Linked DNA regions of Homo sapiens: region 1 is linked to region 2. Evidence: promoter capture Hi-C in 16 types of primary human blood cells and fetal thymus (Javierre and others, 2016). All regions are on one chromosome and are shown on one strand. Each heading gives the region's core, a stretch centred on a gene start or on the middle of the fragment in contact. The rest is flanking DNA. Distances are from core to core; before and after follow the strand shown. Region 1 holds the start of AZGP1 (alpha-2-glycoprotein 1, zinc-binding). Region 2 holds the start of PILRB (paired immunoglobin like type 2 receptor beta).

What was found. The method cuts DNA at HindIII sites, captures the fragments that hold promoters and counts their contacts. A CHiCAGO score of 5 or more calls a contact.
Region 1: a contact is called between the fragment with the promoter of AZGP1 here and the fragment with the promoter of PILRB in region 2, in 5 of 17 cell types (activated CD4 T cells, naive CD8 T cells, total CD4 T cells and 2 more). The highest score is 7.8, in activated CD4 T cells.

What each region holds. Positions count from the first base shown.
Region 1 is chr7:99,974,700-99,979,943 of GRCh38, forward strand. It overlaps AZGP1 (alpha-2-glycoprotein 1, zinc-binding), which reads right to left and starts at 1,332. Exons shown (of 4, transcript NM_001185.4): 1 at 1,246-1,332. The coding sequence starts at 1,321. The HindIII fragment of the contact is 13,516 bases long and covers 1-5,244 here.
Region 2 is chr7:100,354,733-100,360,023 of GRCh38, forward strand. PILRB (paired immunoglobin like type 2 receptor beta) reads left to right here and starts at 3,385. Exons shown (of 4, transcript NM_178238.4): 1 at 3,385-3,634; 2 at 3,958-4,347; 3 at 4,605-4,805. The coding sequence starts at 3,571. STAG3L5P-PVRIG2P-PILRB (STAG3L5P-PVRIG2P-PILRB readthrough) reads left to right here. Exons shown (of 17, transcript NR_036570.1): 12 at 411-508; 13 at 2,018-2,151; 14 at 3,488-3,634; 15 at 4,167-4,347; 16 at 4,605-4,805. It overlaps MIR6840 (microRNA 6840), which reads left to right and starts at 1,919; the gene lies at 1,919-1,989. The HindIII fragment of the contact is 11,655 bases long and covers 1-4,834 here.

The sequences.
Region 1 (5,244 bases), core at 82-2,581, 380 kb before region 2:
CATTTTTGATGATGTGATTATTTCACATTGCATGCCTGAATCAAAACCTCTCATGTACCCCATAAATATATACACATACTATGCACCCACAGTTTTTTTTTTAATTTACAAAAAAATCAGTAGACCTTGAGTAAAGTGGATTACTCTCCATAGTGGTGGGCTTCATCCAATCAGTTGAAGGCCTTAAGAGAAAAAGCCTCAGATGTCCCCTAAAGAGGAAAGAATTCTGCCTACAGTCTGCCCTTGGAATCAAGACTAAGACATCAACTCTTCCCTGGGTCTCCAGCCTGCTGGCCGGCTCTGAAGATTTAGGACTTGTTACTCCTCCCAATAGTGTGAGTCAATTTCTTAAAATAAATCTCTACTCTCTCTCTCTTTTGTATACATATATGTAAATCTCTTCCTATGTGTGTGTGTATCCATGTGTATACAGTGTATGTATGTATGTGTACGTACATATATATGTATATGTGTACCACCTATTAGTTCTGTTTCTCTGGAGAACCCTGAGTAATTCAGATTTTGGCACAGAATCAGATTAACATTCCAAAGTGATTGTTATATAACAAACATATAACACCTTTTCTGACAATTTGTAAATGTCATGAATTTTAAACTCACACAACTGAGAAGCCATTCGCTTCCATGTCTTTATCCTGCACATTCTCATGCCACAAACAGCCTCCTTCCCTTATCCTAGGAGTGACTCTTGATCTCCCGGAGCTCCCACTCTCTTCTCTTCCAGCCACTCGCCTTCCAGACCCACTGCAGTGGTGTCTGAGTGTGGGATTTGGGCACGGGTTTCCTTCTAGCACCATCCCTCCAGCCAACCTGCCTTCCCACTTTCCCCTTGGGGCTGCTCTCTCTTTCCCTCAGCGTCAGGCAGGTGTACCCAGCCATCGGAAGGAGGGAAGGAACAGGAGCAGAAGCAGCTCCAGGCATATGGTTCCTACTCCGTCCTGACTGTCTACCCCAAGCAGGTCGCTTGGTCTTTGGAGTCTTTGTTTTCACTGTAAACTAGGGGTTTTAGATTCAGATTCCTGAAGGTCTTATTTCGGGCCAGCGCAGAGGCTCCCTGAATGCTCCTGGAAGTGTGTGAGCTGAGGGAGTTGACAGCCTTGGGCACCCATTCCTGCCGTATGCCAGGGTATCCCAGCTGCATCCAGCCTGTCTCCCAGCCACATGTCCTGTTCCTCACCTCCTTCCAGTCCTCTCCAGCACCCATCCCTTGCTTTCCCCACTCACCATCTTGGTTCTCCTGGGGGACAGCAGGACCCAGAAGCAGCAGCAGAGACAGCAGGACAGGCACCATTCTTACCATTGTGTCTGCTTGGAGGGTTCTGGGCAGGAGGCACAGATATTATCCTGGGTCCTGGGGCCCTGCCCAGGGGAGGTGAATCTACAGGCCAATGGGAGTGCCAGGACGGGCTCCTCCCCTAATAGAGAAAAAAAAATGATACACAAGCTAGGCTGGGCAGAGGTTATGAAGAATGAATCTACACACAGGATATGCAAATTCAGAGCTGAGTCCAGAGTTGATCTCTGGACTGAGGCTTTGTGTGTGCCTGGGGTGGAAGGATGCCAGTGGGTAGGAGGTGCGTGTGATGGGTGGCAAGCGCCTGGGATGTGTCACCCTTCCAGTCTATTGTGACAACCCCTGGGCCAGTAGGGGCATTTGTGTGTTTTTGGACCACACTGTATCCCTGCCTTCCAGAAAAACTCTCAACATGTCCAAGACATGGACCTGGGTAGACCCCAGCTGGGGTGGGACCCTCACTCTCCCACATCCGATCCTGCCAGAGGCTGTGTCTGGAGGACAGTCACATTCCCATCTCTCCCTCCTTCCTTTCTGTGCCTGTGGAATCCCAGCCTTCCATGATGGAAGCAGAAATAGCCGCATCCTCCTTTTGCAGCCTCCCTGGCAACAGAACGAGCCTCCCAAAATGCTGGGATTAAAGGCGTGAGCCACCACGCCCAGCCAAGATAATTTTTAATGCATACAACAAGACTCGTTTTACACAGACGAAGCCAGTTATTTGAAAACCAGGTCTTTCCAGGCACGCTCAGTGTTGATGGGCTATTTGCAGAGAGACCCTCCGAATACAAAGCAACATGCTATTCTAAAGTGACTGGGGCCCGGGTGCGGTGACTCATGCTTGTAATCCCAGCACTTTGGGAGGCTGAGGTGGTTGGATCACCTCAGGTTGAGGTCAGGTACTCGAGACCAGCCTGGGCAACATGATGAAACCTCGTCTCTACTGAAAAAATACAAGAATTAGCTGCGCGTGGTGGCACATGCCTATAATCCCAGCACTCAGGAAGCTGAGGCAGGGGTTTCACCATGTTGGCCAAGCTGGTTTTGAACTCCTGACCTCGTGATCTGCCCGCCTCGGTCTCCCAAAGTGCTGGGTTTACTAGTGTGAGCAACTGTGCCCAGCCTCTCTTTTGGTTAAAGAAACCTACAAAGGGACCTTTTATAGTGACTTCAATTTTATGGAATAATTGTAATGCTCCTAAGGCCGTTGTGCTCCAAAGTCTAGCCGCAGGTATTGTTATTGATTGGGCTCCAAAAGGGCATTATTGGCAAGATTGCTCCAGCAAAAATACCTCATGCTCAGAGTTTAATTATTTGTTAGATTATGTAGAGGATGGATGGCAGTCATACAGGCTGAGACAATGGGTGTCCCCTTACCTATTTAAATGGATGGATGCAGGCATTACTCCTCCTAGACCAAAAATGATTCATCCCTTTGTTACCCCAGAACATCCTCAACTATGAAAATTAGCTGCAGCTATGACAGGAATAAGGATATGGAACACTACCTATCAACTCCTTCACACTAATACCAAAACACCCACATTCAACATCACCCTCATATCTGAACGGGTGATACCCATCAGGAGCTATGTCAAACCCCCTTACATGCTGTTGGTTGGAAATATAATTATCATTCCCAATACACAAACTATAGAATGTGATAACTGTAAGCTGTTCACGTGCATTGATGCTACTTTTAATCCCACTACAAGTACTCTCTTGGTAAGGGCTAGGGAGGGGGTATGGATACCAGTTTCTTTACATCGTCCATGGGAGTCTTCCCCCTCTATTCACATAGTCAATGAAGTTCTTAAAGGTATCCGCAAAAGAACAAAGAGATTTATTTTTACTCTTATTGCCATCATTGCAGGACTAATTGCGGTTACTGCAACAGCAGCAACTGCTGGAGTTGCCATCCACAATTCTGTTCAAACCGTTCAATATGTTGAATTGAAGCATGGCAGAAAAACTCCTCCAGACTTTGGAATTCTCAGGCTCAAATTGATCAAAAATTAGCTAATCAAATTAATGATCTCCGCCAAAGTGTAATCTGGCTGGGAGATATGAATTTGGAACACCGTATGCAATTACAGAGTGATTGGAATACTTCTGATTATTGCATAATGCCTTATGCTTATAATAAATATCAACATAGCTGGGAAAATGTCTCAAGACATTTAAAAGCCTGGGATGATAACTTAACCTTGGATATTTCAAAACTTAAAGAGCAAATTTTCGAGGATTCACAAGCTCATTTATCCACTGTTCCTGGCTCAGACATTTTTGAAGGCATAACTAAACAATTATCTGATCTTAATCCCTTTAAATAGATCAAACCCCTTGGAGGATCATTGTTGTCACTGGCATTATTAATATTGGTATGCTTACGTTGTCTCCTTTTAGCCTGCAGATGCCTCCAAGGAGTCCGAAAACAAATCCGAAGTCAACGACAAGCAATGATGGCGATGGCGATCCTAGTTAATAAAAAGGGGGGAGATGTGGGCGGCAAGCCATCCAGGTGCCAAGCCAAGAGACCGAGGGCATGAGTTGTTCCAGTATAATAAAATATATAAAACAACAAGAGTTATACTAGATCTAGATCATAGATATGATTATATATCAATATCATTAATCATTAGTTTTTTCCAAATTTATTATTCCAATATTATAATATTATAATAATCCTCCAATATTATAATTTATTCCAATATTATAATAATCTTCGCTGCATAATCATAACCTAAGAAAAACCAGGCCATACAGAGATAGGAGCTGAGGGGACATAGTGAGAAGTGACCAGAAGACAAGAGTGCGAGCCTTCTGTTATGCCCAGACAGGGCCACCAGAAGGGCTCCTTGGTCTAGCAGTAACGCCAGTGTCTGGGAAGACGCCCCTTGCCGAGCGGACGGTGGTCTAGCGGTAGCCTCAGTGTCAAGGAAAACACCCGCTACTTAGCTGACCGGGAAAGGGAGTCTCCCTTTCCTTGGGGGAGTTTAGAGAAGACTCTACTCCTCCACCTCTTGTGGAGGGCCTGACATCAGTCAGGCCCGCCCGCAGTTATCCAGAGGCCTAACCGTCTCCCTGTGATGCTGTGCTTCAGTGGTCACGCTCCTAGTCCGCCTTCATGTTCCATCCTGTACACCTGGCTCTGCCTTTTAGATAACAATAGCAAATTAGTGAAAGTACTAAGTCTCTGATAAGCAGAAATAATGGCATAAGCTGTCTCTCTCTCTTCCTCTTTCTCTCTGCCTTGGCTGCCAGGCAGGGAAGGGCCCCCTGTCCAGTGGACACATGACCCACGTGACCTTACCTATCATTGGAGATGACTCACACTCTTTACCCTGCCCCTTTTGCTTTGTATCCAATAAATAACAGCGCAGCCAGACATTCGGGGCCACTACCGGTCTCCACGTCTTGGTGGTAGTGGTCCCCGGGGCCCAGCTGTCTTTTCTTTTATCTCTTTGTCTTGTGTCTTTATTTCTACACTCTCTCGTCTCTGCACACGGGGAGAAAAACCCTCCGACCCTGTGGGGCTGGTCCCTACACCAATCTACCATAACAGATACCTCAGCCAACTGTTGAAGTTATCACTGCACACCAGGCCTGCCAGAATCCCCCAAGACTCTTGTGTTTTCACTGCGCAGCCCCAATCTGGCCCAGTAACCAACCTCAGCTTCCCAGCCCTCCATTTCCCTGAGTAAATACTGCCTGGAAACAATCCTTGTACCAATCTCTGTATCCGCCAGGAGTATTTGTTATTGGAAACGTAATGCAGTTCTGACCTTAAGCAGAAAATAAACGTATTTATTGGTTAGCTCTCAGAATCCACAGAAAGGATGGAGAACCCAGGCTCAGAATTCCAGAGGAGCCCAACAGTCAAAATCACACCTGCAACCGGCCCAGTAAATATACAGAAGCTGCCAGCA
Region 2 (5,291 bases), core at 2,135-4,634:
ACCAGCTGATTTAATAAGTTGATGTAAAAATTTTACAGTCAGCTACCCCTGGGAGGGGGAGTCTCTCCCTAGTCAGTGAGGCACCAGATGCCAGAGCATTGGCAATGTACAAGGGGCTCAGCCCTGTGGCTCATATGTGTAATCCCAGCACACTGAGAGGATGCCTTGAGCCTGGGAGATTGAGGCCAGCCTGGGTAACAGTGACACCACGTCTCTGCAAAAAAGAAAATTAGGGGAGAACTGTGGTGCGTGCCTATAGTCCCACCTACAGGCAGAGCGAGACCATGTCCCCCACTAAAAAGAGGCCAAGAATGCAGGAAATATAGATAATATGGGCCCTGTGATGGGTGGAGGCCAAATAGATCAATACAGAATTGAAGAAGACACAGAGCACTTGTATTTCCCTTCAGGCATAGCGCGCTGGCTAGGACTCCAGTACCGTGAAGGGAGGCAGTGAGAGCAGACATCTGTGCCTCATTCCTGATCTCAAGGGGAAAGCAAGAACAAGGTGGGTGCCAAGGAGGGGCAAGGGGCTGGGGCAGGCATAGACGTGGCTGGTGAGGAAAGGAGGATAGTTGTTGGGGGAAGGTGGGGACATACAAGCAGCAGTTCTCAAAATGGGCAGGGTCCTGGCCCCCTCCCTGCCTCTGCTGAACACTGCATCCCATGCCTCTCCCATGGCCACCTGCTGGGCTAACGGGCTGGATTTAGACTCTGCCCATGTTGGAATCATGCCCTCCTCCAGGGCCGGTGCCTCCCAAAACCCCCCTCTGAGAGAGAGCCACAGCCCCAGGCTTAGCCCCAGGCCCTGTCACTGCTGTTGGGGGAGGGAGGATGAACCATCCGGGAGGCCTCACACCATTCCAGAGCAGAAATCCTGACACAAAAGGAATCTCCCATGGGGGTTCAGCTGGGTCCAGAGCCCGGAAAGTGACATAAACACGCACCTTGCATCTAAGGAGAATGCACGTGGCGGTACCGGGCCTGAGGCCCCTGGGGAGTATGTACCCTCCAGAGCTACCCAGAGGCTGTTGGCTAAAAGTTCTATGTGGCCCCCTCCTTGGGCAGCCTGGTAAGCAGGTGACCTTCTAGCTGGGTCCCATGGGCCACGGGCAAGGCAGGAATGGAACGAAGAGTCAGTCCTCAGTGGCTGGGTGTTGTATCCCATGCCTATAATCCCAGCACTTTGGGAGGCTGAGGTGGGCAGATCACTTGAGGCCAGGAGTTTGAGACCAGCCTGGCCAACATGGTGAAACCCTGTCTCTACTAAAAATATAAAAATTAGCTGGGTGTGGTGGCACACACCTGTAATTCCCAGCTACTTGGAAGGCTGAGGCAGGAGAATTACTTGAACCCAGGAAGCAGAGGTTACCGTGAGCCAAGATCACACCATTGCACTCCAGCCTGGGCAACACAGCGAGAATCCATCTCAAAAAAAAAAAACAAAAAGTCCTCAGGCAGGGTGGGCCACCCTCTTGAGGCCTTGCCCAAACAGCCAGGGGGTCCCTTGTCCTCTTTTCGGCCCACCTTTGCAGGTGGGACCAGTTCAGTCCAAAGCCCCGGTGCCTCAGTTTCCCTGTGGGTTGAACAAGGAGAATGAGGTGTATAGGGCCTGGCTCAGACGGAGGGGTTTCCTGAGCATGGGGAGCCTGTTTCCTCAGACCTGTGAAGGGAAGGAGGGTGGATCGGCCTGACTGGCCCTGGGAAGCACAGAGGAGCCTACTGGGACCAGGGAAGAGACTGACAAGAGAAGGGAGGCCTGTCCCTGCCTGCTTCTGTCTCAAGAAGATTGTTATCACTTCCTCTGGTGAAATCCTGCCTTCCTGTCCCCACGGCCCCTCAGCTGATGCCACCTTACTCTGGAGAGGATGGGCAGAGCCTCCTATGGAGGGAGCCCTGTGGGTCACCAAAGCTCCAGTGACCACCCCCGGGCAAAGACCTGCAGATCCCCTGTTAGAGACGGGCCCAGGACTTTGTGCGGGGTGCCCACTGTTGCTCTGAGCCTTCACTTCCTCAGGGAGGCTTCCTCAGGATCTCGAACCTGCGGAAGGAGGACCAGTCTGTGTACTTCTGCCAAGTCCAGCTGGACATACAGATCAGGGAGGCTGTCGTGGCAGTCCATCAAGGGGACCCACCTCACCATCACCCAGGGTGAGTCCAGCTGCCCTGGCACCAAGGAACCTTCCTGGTTCAGCCATAGGCTCAGGTGTGTGGAGGGAATGACCTGAGGGGCTGTATGAGGGAACAACCTCCTGGGGCTCCCCTATGCCTGAGTTCCTGCAACTCAGAAGTTGAGGCCCAGAGATCCAGGTAGAGGGGGCTCCAGTCCTGGGACTGCCCTGCAAGTCATGTGGCCTGGGACAGGGCTTCTCCAAGCTCTGTCCCCTCCTGTGTAGGGCAGGGAGGTCAGAGGGGACCCTGCAGATCCAGTCTCATGTCTGGGGGTCAAGGGGTGGCCTCGAGAGGGACCAGTCTCTGTGTAGGGGACCGTCAGCCCCCTCACCCCTTGAGCAAGACTGTGGTCCCTGCACCAAGGGAGCAGGCCTGGGGTGGGAAGAGGCCAGCTGGGCTGTGGTGGTGCCTGGGGACTGCATGGGAGCCCCTGCCAGGGAGGGAGAGGGACAGAGGACAAGCTGGGGGCTCTGGTGCTTGGGCTGGGGGCTGAGCGCCTGTGACCTCCACTGGCTTCCTCCTTCTCCTCTCTGAGGACTGAATCTGGGGTGCAGCAGAGCACAGACTCAGGCCCGCCTTTCCTCTCCCTGAAAGAGCCTGCGCTGGCCTTGGACAGAGAAAGGGATGAGAAGTGAGGCTGAGTGCGGTGGGGTCTGCAGGGATCCAGGTGGGAGGGGCCCAGCCAGCCAAGGTGAGGCCCAGCCCCTCAGCAGGAAGATGGGCACTGGGGCCCTTGGGCAGGGCTGACTTGACACTTTTGTGTGACTTGAGCCACTGTGCCCAGCCTGAACACCCTTTCCTGGTAAAACACTCCACAAACCAGGAAGAGAAGGAATGTACTGCAACAAAATAAAGGCCAGTCATGCAAGGCCCATGGCTGAAAGTCTTTCAGTCATTTTAGATGAAAGACTGAAATCTTTGCCTCCAAGATCAGGAACAAGAGAAGGATGCCCGCTCTCACTACTTCTATTCAACACAGGATTTGAAGTCAGGCCGGGCACAGTGGCTCACGCCTGTAATCCCAGCACTTTTGGAGGCTGAGGCGGGCAGATTACTTGAGCCTATGAGTGTGAGACCACCCTGGCCAACATGGCAAAACCCCATCTCTACTAAAAAAAAAAAAAAAAAAAGGATTTGAAGTCCTGGCCGGAGCAATTAGGCAAGGGATAAAAAGGCACCTAAGGCCCTTTTGCAATAAGAAGCCAGATGGATAAAGGAAGTGCTGGTCACCCTGGAGGTGTACTGGTTTGGGGAAGGTCCCCGGCCCCCACAGCCCTCTGGGGAGCCTCACCCTGGCTCTCCCCACTCACCTCAGCCCTCAGGCAGCCCCTCCACAGGGCCCCTCTCCTGCCTGGACAGCTCTGCTGGTCTCCCCGTCCCCTGGAGAAGAACAAGGCCATGGGTCGGCCCCTGCTGCTGCCCCTGCTGCTCCTGCTGCAGCCGCCAGCATTTCTGCAGCCTGGTGAGTACCCAGGACCGCCCAGGTATGGTCTCTGCCCAAACCACAGGAGGGGCCAACCCAAGACAAAGGCAGAACATCTGGGGCAGGGGCCAGGCTCCCACCTCCAGCAAACAAGGGCGGGTCCCATAGGGGTGGGTGCCGCCATCTCTTCCCCCTCCACCCTCCCCCATGCCTGAAGAGTGGGAGACCCAGGCCAGAGGTCAGTCCAGCCACCTGTCACACGACTGCCTGTGGGTGAAGGTGTGGGAGGGTCTGGGGTCACCCTCTTTGTGTCCTGAGGTGGTTTCAAGGTCTCTCCCCCACTCACTCCCTCCTTCCTCTAGGTGGCTCCACAGGATCTGGTCCAAGCTACCTTTATGGGGTCACTCAACCAAAACACCTCTCAGCCTCCATGGGTGGCTCTGTGGAAATCCCCTTCTCCTTCTATTACCCCTGGGAGTTAGCCATAGTTCCCAACGTGAGAATATCCTGGAGACGGGGCCACTTCCACGGGCAGTCCTTCTACAGCACAAGGCCGCCTTCCATTCACAAGGATTATGTGAACCGGCTCTTTCTGAACTGGACAGAGGGTCAGGAGAGCGGCTTCCTCAGGATCTCAAACCTGCGGAAGGAGGACCAGTCTGTGTATTTCTGCCGAGTCGAGCTGGACACCCGGAGATCAGGGAGGCAGCAGTTGCAGTCCATCAAGGGGACCAAACTCACCATCACCCAGGGTGAGTCCAGCTGCCCTGACACCTGCCTTGCCCACCGCAGTGAGGGTTTTGGTGACCACTGATGTCTTCACATTTAAACCCAGTGGTCTGGATTGAGAGCTGTTAGCATTTCACCTTGCTACCCCTTCCATGTCTGGGCTTCTGAGAGCAGCTTGCTCATCCTGAATGTCCCCAATCTAGAAAGCAGCACACCATGCCTTTCATCCAGACGCCCCACACCCCCAGAAGAGGGTCTGCTCATTCCTCATCTCTTCCAGCTGTCACAACCACCACCACCTGGAGGCCCAGCAGCACAACCACCATAGCCGGCCTCAGGGTCACAGAAAGCAAAGGGCACTCAGAATCATGGCACCTAAGTCTGGACACTGCCATCAGGGTTGCATTGGCTGTCGCTGTGCTCAAAACTGTCATTTTGGGACTGCTGTGCCTCCTCCTCCTGTGGTGGAGGAGAAGGAAAGGTAAGTGCCCAGAACGCACTGTCTCCTCAAGCTTCCCAGCTGGGGGTTTCTCTGAGCCCACCTGCAGCTAAGGGACTTCAGAAATATGCAGACCCTGCTGGCTCCCCTCAAGCCCACCAAGGCCGACTCTGGCCTGTGCTGGGGCGTCTGCATCTCGGGGGCCTCCTGCAGTGGGGTGGTGCAGGGTCACATGTGAGAACCCCCAGCCTGGGCGCGGTGGCTCATGCCTGTAATCCCAGCACTTTGGGAGCCCAAGGCAGGTGGATCACAAGGCCAAGAGATCAAGACCATCCTGGCCAACATGGTGACACCCCATGTCTACTAAAAATACAAAAATTAGCTGGGCATGGTGGCACACGCTTATAGTCCCAGCTACTCAGGAGGCTGAGGCAGGAGAATCGCTTGAACCCGGGAGGCAGAGGTTGCAGTGAGTCAAGGTCGTGCCACTGCACTCCAGCCTGGTGACAGAACAAGACTCTGTCTCAA